Linked DNA regions of Homo sapiens: region 1 is linked to region 2. The links are contacts of gene promoters, found by promoter capture Hi-C in human tissues and cell types (Jung and others, 2019). All regions are on one chromosome and are shown on one strand. The core of a region is centred on a gene start or on the middle of the fragment in contact, and the rest is flanking DNA. Distances in the headings are between cores, read along the strand shown.

Evidence for each region. The method cuts DNA at HindIII sites, captures the fragments that hold promoters and counts their contacts. A contact is called where the count stands out against the background at its distance.
Region 1: a fragment that was not itself captured here is called in contact with the fragment with the promoter of ZNF30 in region 2 in 1 of the 25 tissues and cell types used here (hippocampus).

The regions. Positions count from the first base shown.
Region 1 is chr19:34,683,652-34,689,955 of GRCh38, reverse strand. ZNF302 (zinc finger protein 302) reads right to left here. Exons shown (of 5, transcript NM_001289187.2): 5 at 3,560-5,704. The coding sequence ends at 4,719. Among named protein-coding and RNA genes, the nearest start is that of ZNF302, 9.1 kb to the right of the region's middle. The HindIII fragment of the contact is 3,944 bases long and covers 2,587-6,304 here.
Region 2 is chr19:34,924,228-34,930,554 of GRCh38, reverse strand. It overlaps ZNF30 (zinc finger protein 30), which reads right to left and starts at 3,652. Exons shown (of 5, transcript NM_194325.3): 1 at 3,339-3,652; 2 at 599-671. The coding sequence starts at 607. It overlaps ZNF30-AS1 (ZNF30 antisense RNA 1), which reads left to right and starts at 3,729. Exons shown (of 3, transcript NR_110749.1): 1 at 3,729-3,826. The HindIII fragment of the contact is 21,653 bases long and covers 18-6,327 here.

The DNA.
Region 1 (6,304 bases), core at 3,309-5,808, 240 kb after region 2:
AACTTCTTAGTACCCCCCACCATTCACGTACAGCAGCATGTGCAGATCCTCAGGAGAGGCATCGCCTGCAGAATCCAGAGACATGTTTGGATCGTGCTGTGCCCTATCTCAGGGCTGTGGCCTTGTGCAAGCTACCTTGCTACCTTTCACCTCCATTTTCCTAAGGAAGGCTTAAAGGGGAAATATTAACCATCATTCATTCTAGGTGAGAGTACCAGAGATGGCTAATGTTTAATGTGTGTTCCCAGTGCCCAGCACCATTCAGGGACATTCTGGATGCTATTTCTAAAGAGAAACAGTCCTAGAAATGCATCCTCTACTCCATCTTCCTTTGCTCACTGCTCTCCTGCCAAGCTGTCCTGATCATTCCAAGCTCTTTCCGACTTCCCAGTCTTTCCCTCTGCCTGGGACACTGAGTCCAGATCTCTGCAGTGCCTCTCCCTCTCCTCTCCTCCTTTGCATCCTTCCCTGTTCTGCACCAATGTCACCTAGTAGGAGAGTCTTTTTTTTTTTTTTTCGGCCTTGCTGGTTCTAGGTTAAGTATTTCTCATCTTCTGGAATCTTTGTGCAGGGAATGTGGCACACGTACAAAAGTAGAGATCAGGACTTGGTTGGGTTTTCCAGGGTGGTGTGGGAGCAAAGAGGCTAAATAACAATAATAGCTACATTTATTGAGCTCTGAGGGTAACTCGTTATGTAGCACCATTATGTAGCACTTCATTTAATCCCAATTTTCTCAGAGTTAGTTTCTATTATTCCTGCTTTACAGAAAAGGAACCTGAGATTTGGAAAACTTAAGTTACCTTCTCAGGGTCACGCAACTCTTGGCAGAAACTCACACCCTGTACTTTGATCCCTTGCCTATGTTCTTTTGTCTTCACCACCATTCCTCCTCAGTGGGCTGGAGAAGCCTGCGGTGACACCTGACAAAGATTTTCTTTGACCAAACTCTATCCAGGCCCCTCTGAGCCTTCTTGAATATGCCTGTCAACTGTGGCCTATTGAGACTTGAACAACACTAACATTTTCTAATGACTCCTAAAGTGCCTTTCCAAAAAACTCAAGGCTGTCCAAAGAATTTCTTCCAGCCAGCACCTGAAGATAAGGCCCCTGTCTCCCAGCCTCTGTGGGAGGATATGAGCCTAACTCAAAAGTGCCAGTAGCAAACCCAGATAAGACTGCACATAGACCAGCCCCCTCCCTTCCTAATTTTTCACTTTTCTGACTCCACTGAACCGCTCCTCACCACCCCCTATTTCTTCACCCTCCCTTTAACATACTCATTTACCTTTGTACAAATCAAAGCTTAGTTGACTTCATGCCAAATTCCTTTCCCCATTGCAATAGTTATCAATTAGTCTGTTCTTACCACTGTCATTAATGTCCAGCTTTGTTCGTCTTTGACACACCTAGTGAGCTTTGCAAGGTAGGCAGGCCTCCCTTGGCAGGTAAGCGTGGTAATAAATGGGGTATGGGACACATTCTAGGCAGAAGGAGCGGCATGGCCAAAGGAAATGTTTTTTGTTCAGTGAGGCAAGAGAGCCTTATGGTTGCCAAGAGAAATCCCAGTCTTCTGAGATCTGTCCTAGAAGGGCAATATTGTGTGGTCTTTTACTAAATGTTCAAATGTAGCCTATATTCCTAAGATGTGTGACTCTGAGAGAGACTCACTCAGCTCACTAGCACAAAGATGATTATGGCATTTACCTTACAGTATGTGGGAAGATTATTGAAAGCAGGAAAAACACGGCAACAAACTTCCATGCAGAGGCACTTTGTTGCTTGCTTTATATATCTTTTAATTCTCACAACCACCTGATGAGAAATATTTTTGTTTTGATGGAGACATCGGGAAATGAAGTGACTTCCCCAAGTGTATAGAATAAGCAAGCGACAGTCCCAATAGGCTGAATTCACACCTAGCAATTTGTGTCCAGAGCTGACAGCATTTAATTGTCTGAATGCAGCACACAAAGCAAACACAAGGCGCAGTGGCTGCTGCTATTAACGGTATTGTATTATGATCATTATAGTTTTTCCCTATTTCTTTGATGCCAGAGTGCTTACCCTCAGCACCTCTCGGGCCATACGGGCCACACGGCCTTGTCATTGTCTTGTATCTTCCATTAATTACTTCTGCATATAAAGCTTTTTTCCTCTAACACAATTGCAATTTGTTTAAAAACTGACTCCCCCTCAGCAGCAAAGAATTAAGCTCCCAGGAAGTGCTCAGTGATATGTTCATTGGTTCTTTCTAGATGTTTACCAGCAACTGAGTTCTAATCACATTTGACTGGCCCAAGGCTAACAAGAAAACTCTGACTTTCCAGGCATCGGTGACCTTCAATGACAGGCTGTAACCTCCATTCAGGAAGAGTGAGGGCAGTGGCACCCAGCCCATGGGACTCTGTACTCAGAGATGATGCCAAAGACCTGTAGTCTTCTGGTCTCAGTGGGTAAACCCTCCCCTTTCCTCCATGTGGAAGCCTGATGCCTCCTTCACTCGGCCCATTTTCCAACTCTGTAGGGCATCCTTCTTCCTTCTCAGAGACCTGCTGAATTCTCATCTCATCTCCTATCTGGTCTCTTTGTTTCTCCTTAGGTTATTTTGGGCAAGAAACATTCCCTCAAAATGGCTCAGATACTAAAGGATTTGTTGGAAGGAAACGGGGGTGTTTTGTAAATGCTCTCCCCCAAAAATGTGAAACAGTAAACAGATAAGAGTGGCAAGTGATTAGATGTGACATCTGAGACCAGAATAATGAAGCAACCATGAGAAGACGATGATGATGAAATCAATAGCTATAGCTAATACTTACTGAATGCTATTGAGAGGCCAGGCATTGTTGTAAACATTGTGCATCAATTAACTCATTTAACTTTCATAATAATGCTGTGAAATAGGTTTATTACCATTTTACAGATGGAGAAACTGCAGCATGACCCAGTGAAACAGTTTGTCCAAGGTCACAAAGCCAGTATACATGTAACTTGGATTTAAACCCAGGTAACAAGACTCCAAAGCTTAATGCTCTTCACACACACACATCTCGAAGCTCTTAAGGAGTATGGAGTGTTTCTTAAGTCCACAGAAGATGCTCAAGAAATGGTTAATAGGTAAGATTGAGGAAACAATATGTTGTCAGTGACACCATAACATTATTATTATATTCTGGACAAACAGTGTTAGTGTCCCCTAAGAACGTGTGAAAAATGCAAATTCAAATCAACTCATACAGAAACTCTAGGACTGAGGCTTAGCAATCTGTGCTTTAACACGTCCTTCCAGTGATTTCGACACAGCACTAGAGCTCAGAACTACTAGATTCCTTTATCCCATCCCTGTGTAATACACATGAGTAATGCTCAGTAAATGTTCTTGAAATGTATTTAATTAAGCCTACTGGATATGGACTCAATAATCCTCACCAAAATACTGCTATTCTTAGTATAAAGAGCAGGCCATTCTTCTCGAAGTTTGCTAGTCTCCCGCTAAAGGCTATACTAAGGCTAATCTTAGTGAAATTTTTTTTTGTCGCAAACAGTCACAGAGAAAGAGTTCATGATATACAAAATGATTTTATTAGATGCCAAATTTTTATTAACACCATTTTATTTCTTTTGCAGCTTTAATTTTTAACATTATAACATTTACTGGCTCCTCTGGGTGACTAAATATCTTCACATGCCCACTAGCTAAAAAGAATTTCTAAGTAGAACTCAACTGAAACTGCAAGCTACTGCTCTAAGAAATGCATACTTATGTTTATTTGCTCTCCTATATAATCCTGTTTACAAATAGCATAACTGCAAAGATTTATATGTAATTTCTAAATCCTTCAGGTTGCTCTACCATTCATCTTCTTATGTCTGGCAAGATAAACACTCTTAGTGAACACTTTGCTGCATCTCTTAAATGAGATTTGTCTCCAGTTTATTTCCTATAGAATAAGGGATGCACTTGGAACTGAAAAATTCCTTCAATTTCTAAAGTTTCCACATTCATACAACTTTTCTCCTGTAGGAGTTTGCAGGAGATTCCTATTGCCTATAGTCTTTCCCACATTTGCTACATGTACACAGATTTTTCCTAGTGTGAGTATACTTAGGTCAATTAAGGGATTAATACTGACAAAGGCTTTCCCACATTTATTGACTTCATATGATTTCTCTACAGTATAAACTCTAATAAAAAAATCTGCATCATTGCTAAAAGTCTCCCATGTTCACCACCTTCATACAACTTTTCCCCAGTATACATTTTTCTGATGTTAAATAAGGGAGGATCTATGAATGAAGTTTACCGTGATAAACACTGCTTCTCTTCTGTAAGATTTCTCACATGTATAGGGATTCATATGATCTAAAGGCTTTTCCACACTTACCACACTATTGGGTTTCTCTCCATTATGTACTCTTTGATGGGCAGTAAGATTCGAGCCTTTGCTAAAAGCTTTCCCACACTCACTACATTTATATGGCTTTTCTCCAGTATGAATTCTCTGATGTACAGTAAGGTTTGAACTACAGCTGAAGGTCTTCCCACATTTAATACATTCGTAAGGTTTCTCTCCAGTATGAATACTGTGATGTTGAAGCAGGGACGACCTATGACTAAAGGCTTTCCCACATATACTGCATTCGTAGGGTTTCAATCTAATGTGATTTCTCAAATGCATATTCAGTGATTCAAGCTGGTTGAAGGATTTCCTGCATTTCTAAACTTCAAACGGTTTTTCTTCAGTATGAATACTCTGATGTTGAACAAGAAATGAGAAGCTACTAAAGACCTTGAGACATTTGTTGCATTCATATTTTTTCTTCATACTGTGAATTCTTTGATGTTGAGTAAGGTGTGAGCTACAGCAGAAAGCTTTCCCACATTCTCTACATTCATAAGGCTTCTCTCCAGTATGGCTTTTCTGATGGTGAATGAGAGACGAACTATGAATGAAGGCCTTTCCACATATACGACACTCATAGCGTTTTTCTTGCGTATGAATTCTTAGATGCTGAATGAGAAGGGACACACGACTAAAAGACTTTCCACAGTTCATACATTCATACGGTTTCTCTCCCGTGTGAGTGCTCTGATGGTTAGTAAGTGATGAGCCATGGCTAAAGGCCTTCCCACATTCAATGCATTTGTAAGGTTTCTCTCCACTATGGCTTATCTGATGTCGTGTAAGGGATGAACCATGGCTAAAAGTCTTCCCACATTCACGACATTCATAGGGCTTCTCTCCTGTATGAATTCTCCAGTGGCGACTGAGGATTGACTGTTTGCCAAAGGCTTTCCCACATTCACTGCATGTATAGATTTTCTCTCTATTACAAGTCTGGGGAAGGGTAAGAGATTTGCTCTGGTTGAAGGCTGCCCCACTTTTATTAGAATTTAAAAGTTTCTTTCCACCATTTATTCTCTCACTTTTTATAACTGACTTTTTTGATAAATTCTTCTTTAATATATCATATTTGTGTGAATTCCCTTCAGCAGAATTGTTTTGTGGTTCAGAAAGAGTAGACTTTGAATGAAAGGTGCTTCTAAATGTGTCGCATTCTGTATATTCCAAATTCTTATTAGAATTTGAAAATTCATAACTTTGTTTTACAACTTTTTCCATTGTTACTGGTTGGGGTGAATCTTCATCATAAATATCCTTCTTTGTTGATAATTCCTTGTTTTCCCATCTTGATTCCCAATCTGAAATATATCAAGAAAGCAAAGCACTGCCTTTTTTTTTTTTTTTTTTTTTTTTTTTTTTTTTTTTTTTTTTTTTTTTTACTTCTTGAAAAAAGCTTCTACAGTGGAATTAGGAGAATTGGATAAGAAATGAAGCACCCAGAAAACACATAGTTCTGACAACTCAAATATTTCAGTGACTTCTGAACAATGCTCAAATAGAGCAGAGAATCCAAAGTTCACAGAAGCAGGAACAGAGTGTGATAAAGGAAATGGGTAAGCTGTACGAAATGGATAAAATAGTATGGAAAAAAGGAAAGTATCAGAAATAAGATGTGGAAGGCATTCAGGATTACAAATCATCATTTTGTGCCTATATTCATGTGGGAAAGGTTGCATTTTGTTTCATAGCCTTTTTTTCCAACCTTCCATTAATCTCAATTTGCTGCTGGATTATCAAGCTTAAAATACAGAATTGATACTACTATATTAAACAACTGCAGTAAAAACAAAGTAAATGCTCTTTATAGCTGACAAAGATATAGGCTTTCTGAGGTTATGAAGAAACTGTGTGAATCATATTTTTCTTGAACATTAGAAAATATTATTCCTAGAAACATT
Region 2 (6,327 bases), core at 2,403-4,902:
TGGATTAGGGTGAAAATGACTCAGAACCAAATGCATGTTGTCCAAGTCTGGCAGGTCCCATTCCATAACAAAATTGACCTTAGTATCACTCTCAGGCATCCCAAGAAGAACCATGATATCAATGTTTCACATCATAATCACATCCCCACTCAATCTTAAAAGCCTCATAGAGCATGTTATCTCATCATATTGAGACCAATCAATACAAAATTCCATCTTATCAGCTCTGTGGAAAACTTCAAATCTTCTGATGTGTGGCCAGATGAAGCCAACAGATCAAACTCATCAAACCACAGATGGATGTAGGAAGCTCAAATACTTCTGCCACGGGACTTCAATCCTCCACTGCTCTATCACAGCCTTTCAGCTAAGACTTACTATTTACCTGCTTCGTAACTTGCTCAATGAATTCATGAACACCGATTAGAAATGAGGACCTCGTAAGGAGGAAACGATACTTTGACATCATTCCGCCAAACAGAAGGAATCAAGTAGGCAATTAGATGGTACATTCTGATGAAGAATGCTTCAGGTCAATTAAGGAAAATAGCCACGTAATATAAAAATCCCCATATTTCAAGAAGAAACACCAACTTACATGGGCCATGCTTTGAGAATTGTAAGAACTGATCAGTCTTCACTGGGGTTCCTCTATCTGAGAAGTTCAAAAGCTAGAAAATCCAGAGAGGAGAAAAGGAGGCTTTAGTGTTCTCAATGACATACATTAATAAACCTTCCTGTCCCTTCATTTCAGCTTCCAAACTGTGCTACAAACACCCTCAAACAAAATTTGGAGAACAGTGGAATTCAAGCCCCAGTTAACTAAGCTGTACAGAGTTGATCGCAGAGGTGTGGCACTTCTTAAGGAAGGCAGAATCAGACACAAGCTTTCCCACCAGGCCCCCATTTTGGGAATGTTGATCTAGGTCTCAAATTGGGTTGCACAGTCTTCTCTTGAACAGATTCTCCTCACTCCATTCCCACGTTCTAAGCCTAAGAAAGAGTCCATATCACCCAATCCAGAGCTTCTTTAATGGTGACAGTATAAATCTGAGGTTGGTCAAGACACGGGAGGTAGAGAACATAGGAGAAAATGATCAGGCAGTTACTAATATGGCTCAGTTTTCTCATCACTAAAATAGTAATAGGAGTATCAGCTCCAACATGTGGTTGTCCTGAAGAATAAGAAAACCCACCCCAAAAGTTAATAGAATACTTGCTTAACATGAGTTGGCTCTTTTGTTTTGTTTTGTTTTGTTTTATTTTTTGAGACGGAGTCTCGCCCTGTCACCCAGGCTGGAGTGAGTGCAGTGGCGCCATCTTGGCTCACGGCAACCTACGCCACCCAGATTCAAGTGATTCTCCTGCCTCTGCCTCCCTCCCGAGTAGCTAGGACTACAGGCGCATAGTCACGCCCAGCTAAGTTTTGTATTTTTAGTAGAGACGGAATTTCACCATGTTGGCCAGGATGGTCTCCATCTCCTGACTTCGTGATCCGCCCGCCTCAGCCTCCCAAAGTGCTGGGATTACAGGCGTGAGCCACCGCGCGCAGCCGAGTTAGCTCTTACTATGGTAGCTCCCTCTTATCCACAGGGGGGAGATACACTCTAAGATCCTCAGTAGATGTCTGACGGAACCCCATATATACTATGTTTTTTCTTATACATACACACCTATGATTAAGTTTAATTTATAAATTAGGCACCATAAGAGATTTTTATTTTTCTGTTTGTTTGTTTGTTTGAGACAGGGTCTCACTCTGTTGCCCAGGCTGGAGTGCAGTGGTGTGATCTTGGCTCACTGCAACCTCCACCTCCTGGGAGCCTCCCAAGTAGCTGGGATTACAGGTGCCCACCACCACGCCTGGCTAATTTTTGTATTTTTACTAGAGACAGGGTTTCACCATGTTGGCCAGGCTGGTCTCGAACTCCTGACCTCAATTGATCCACCCATCTCAGTATCCCAAAGTGCTGGGATTACAGGCGTGAGCCACCGCACCCGGCCACCATAATTGAGTAATAGCAATAACTAATAATAAAATAGAACAACTATAATAGCATACTGTAATAAAAGTTATGTGAACATGGCCCCTCTCTCTCAAAATATCTTATTGTACCAAAATCACCTATTTTCAGATCATGGTTGACTGAGGGTAACAAAGTGAAGAAAGTGAAACTGCCGATTAAGGGGGCACTACTGCATTGGAGTTATTACGTAAACATTATACATCCTTTATTTCATTTTAATTAAACACTTGTTTCCACTTAATTTAATTTATGTATCTATCTATCTATCTATCTATATATATATATATATATATATATATATATATATTTTTTTTTTTTTAGAGAAGGGATCTCGCTCTGTCGCCCAGGCTGGATTGCGGTGGTGCCATCTCCACTCACTGCAACCTCCGCCGCCTCCCAGCTTCAAGCACTTCTCCCACCTCCGCCTCTCAAGTAGCTGTGACTACAAGCGCACGCCACCATGCCTGGCTAATTTTTATATTTTTAGTAGAGACGGGGTTTCACCATGTTGCCATGTTGGTGGTCTCGAACTCCTGAGCTCAGGCAATCCACCCGCCTCAGCTTCCCAAAGTGCTGGGATTACAGGCATGAGCCATGGCACCCGACCTGTTTCCACTTTTTACTTAAAACGTAAGTTTCTCTGGCATGCTTTCTTTTAATTCTAACTAAAAAATTAAGAGCAACTCTTCTTTAAAAACAAACAAATAAAAAACCAACAGAAAAGATTCTCTGACATTTCAATTTCCTCTGTCCCCTAGCAGCTAGAGAGAGAGAGCTACTGCTGTGGGATAATGCAAAATTGAAGAACCTTAAGAAAAAGCTGGGTCCTATTTCTGTGCAATATGGAGATTGATGGAAATGTTTACAGCTGTCATCTTGCTCTCCTTTCTTACATAATTTTGTCATTAGTTAAGTAATCTGCACAACAGATCCTTTGAAGTCCTTTTCCCTGCACTGATAATTTTCAGATGACATTGCTCTCATCTTTAAAAGGTGTAAATACTTTATACAGTTTTTTCCAAACAAGAAGAGGCTTCCTGGCAATCCCATTTCTTCCCGCTGCATGCAAAAGGTATCATAACTATCGTTTCCTTTTTAAACTGAGAGTTGAAGAGTCTTTTGCTCCTTTACATAAATCAATTACAGTGATTTTATCCAAAATAGTAACAAATATTAATAGCTCAGGTTCGCATGGAGGCCATGCACCCAGTCTTCGCGGATGCACACCGGCCCCGGCCGACGCACCCTCCCTGCCCTGCCGCTCCCGCACTCGCCGGCCCGGGATCCTCGCCCGGTCCACCCAACGCTCACGCATGTCTCAGTCCGGGTTCCGCGCCGACACAGGTCTGCAGAGCTCCCGGTGCTGTGTTCGTTTGCAGAAATTCAAGTTGCCCGGCGGGGCTGCTCCAACCTCGGAGCTGGGCGCTGACTTCTCCCTCGATGAACTCCAAAGCTCGCTGCCGGGTCAACGACCACAATGAACTGGCGAGGAGGCAGAGATTGAGGTCGTTCCAGTGGCCGCTGAGAAATGTAGTTTCAGGCTACATTGGCCGGATAGCTGCAGCCTCTGGGAAATGCAGTCCTGAGCCGTCACACCGCCGAGCATGCCCGGCGCAGTCCACAAGGCCGCCCACCGGCGCCCGGAGACTTCTGGGCGCTCCCGTCCGGCTGAGAATGCGCAGGCGCAGGCGCTCGAGTTGCTGGGAGCCATAGACCTCGAAGCTGGGGCGTCTGACACCTGAGGCCCGAAGTAGGTGGCCAGCTTCTTAGAGGGCCAACCCAGGGCATTAACACACCAGGTCAGAAAAAGCAAAAACAAAAACAAACAAAAAATGATAATCTATACCAAAATATGTTATTACTTTAACACAAAAATATGAAAACTAGGTGTTTGAAATTATCTTTCCGTACTGTTTGCTTTTCGCTACAGAAATGCTATTATTTAACAGAATATTAATAGGATTAATAGTGGCAATTAGACTAATCACGTGTGAGAAAAATATATTTCTGTCCTCTGATACAGGAATTTTAAGTTTCTATTAAATATTTAAATTTTGTGGGTTCTATCTAAGATGCTAAATGTAAGACCTTTTAAAAGGAGAATGTAAATAAGGCTAATCAAACAGATATTAACTATATGTAATAGGCATTTATCTTTCTGTCCCATCATACGTTTAGGAGATATTTACTCTTTCTGGTTCCTTTTCCAGTAACACCTCTCTGTATTAGCTGCCTGTAGCCTTTATGGCATTCTTCTTTTGGTTTATGTAATGCTAAAACTGAATACAGGCAAACGTGAAATTCACCTTGACTGTCAGCTCCGCTTTTTGTTTGTTTTGTTTTTGTTTTGTTTTGAGACAGGGTCTCCCTCTGTCGCTCAGACTGGAATGCAGTGGCGCTATCTCGGCTTACTGTAACCTCTGCCTCCCAGGTTCAAGTGATTCTCCCACCTCGGCCTCCAGAGTAGCTGAGACTACAGGGGCGCGCCACTACACCTGGCTAATTTTTGTATATTTTTTGTAGAAATGGGGTTTTGCCATCTTGCCCAGGCTAGTCTCGAACTCCTGGGCTCAAGCGATCCACCCGCCTCAGCCTCCCAAAGTGCTGGGATGACAGGGTGAGCCACCGCGGCCAGCCGAGCTCTGTTCTTATTAAGCCCACATTACAGTGATTCCTGGAGTCAGTCCAGGGTGATGACATTGATAAGGAGGTGGGGAAGGGGAGTGCTGGGGAGGGAAGGGCGGGGTCCCTTTAAATGATATGGAAGGGGGAAAGGGAGGTGCTGGGTACAGGAGGGTGTGGTCCCTGGCTAGGGCTCCACCCCTGGCCCTGTGCCAACTGACCTAGGTGAGGGCAGGCATTTTTGTTTTCCTGCCCAAATGTTGCGTTTCCCAAGACCACCCTGGCCTGCCACGCCCCCATCCTGTTCCCGCCCCCATCCTGTCCCTATAAATACTCTGAGACCCTAGCAAGCAGACACACAAGCCGCTGGACATCCAGAGGAACATGTTGGCGGAAGAAGACATGACAGACGCTGGCACGCGGGCAGGCCACCCACCAGAAGGACGCGGAGTTTGGCTGGGGCAGTCCAAGGAGAGCCGGTGCTGCGGAGCAGCCCGATTCCAGGGGAAAACCATTTCCCTTCTGGCTCCCCCAACTGTTGAGAGCTACTTCCACTCAAAACCCTGCAGTCATCCTCCAAGCCCATGTGTGATCTGATTCTTCTGGTACACCAAGACAGGAACCCCGGGATATGAAAGCCCTCTGTCCTTGCGATAACGCAGGGATCTAATTGAATTGACTAACATAAGCCGCCTGCGGACAGCTAAAGAGCATCCTGTAACACGCCCACTGGGGCTTCAGCTATAAACATTCACCCCTAGACACTGCCATGGGGTCAGAGCCCCACAGCCCGCCCGTCTGTATACTCCCCTGGAGGTTTGAGCAGCGGGACACTGAAGAAGCGAGCCACACCCCCATCGCACGCCCTGCCAGGGGGACAAGGGAACTTTTCTCTTATCAACATCAACCTAAGTAGCCTCGCATCAAAAGCATTTGACTGTCAATAGTTAGGATTTTCCCTACCAGCAGTAGCAAGTTTTTAGCCTTATTGGAATTAGTTTCCAGCTCTGCAAAAATGTTCATCTGCTTTGTAACTCCAGGCTTTTTTGGTAGAGCAGCTGTTTGTTGACCAGTCGCTTTGCCTCTGTAAGTTCACCATATAGGCTATTCATGTCTAAAGTGTTCATTTTCAAACCCTCTGAAACTCATTGGGTATCTATTACAATGTCTGAAGACAAATATTTCATTAACAAATAAGAAGGTGATAGACCTGGAGTGAGAATCCACCCAATTCATGTCAATCGGAGACAAATTTGCAATATCCTGTGATTCCTGAACTGGCTGTGGTCACTGATCACTTCTGTCCTGGAGGAACTAGAGACATTCAAGACAAATAAGGACTCATCTAGTCCCCTGATTAAAGGACTTTTCATAGAGGCTGCATTAAGGGCCAAATTATGTACAATGTGCTCTCTGAGATGGGGATGTGTAAATAGCCGTCAAAATGTCATCTGGGCAGAAATTTGTTTGGGAGGATAAATTTATGTTCAGGGGTGAGGGGTGAATACAATAGAAATTTGTATTTTGCAGAGGGAAATGTGGGTTCCATGGTGGGTAGAAATAAAATAGATTAGTAGAATACTTAGAATGTCAAAGAAATTTTTAAATCATAGGGTTTTTTTTTTGAGAAAATTTTTGAAATGATTTTGAAATGATTTATTCAAAAAGTGCCCCTCAA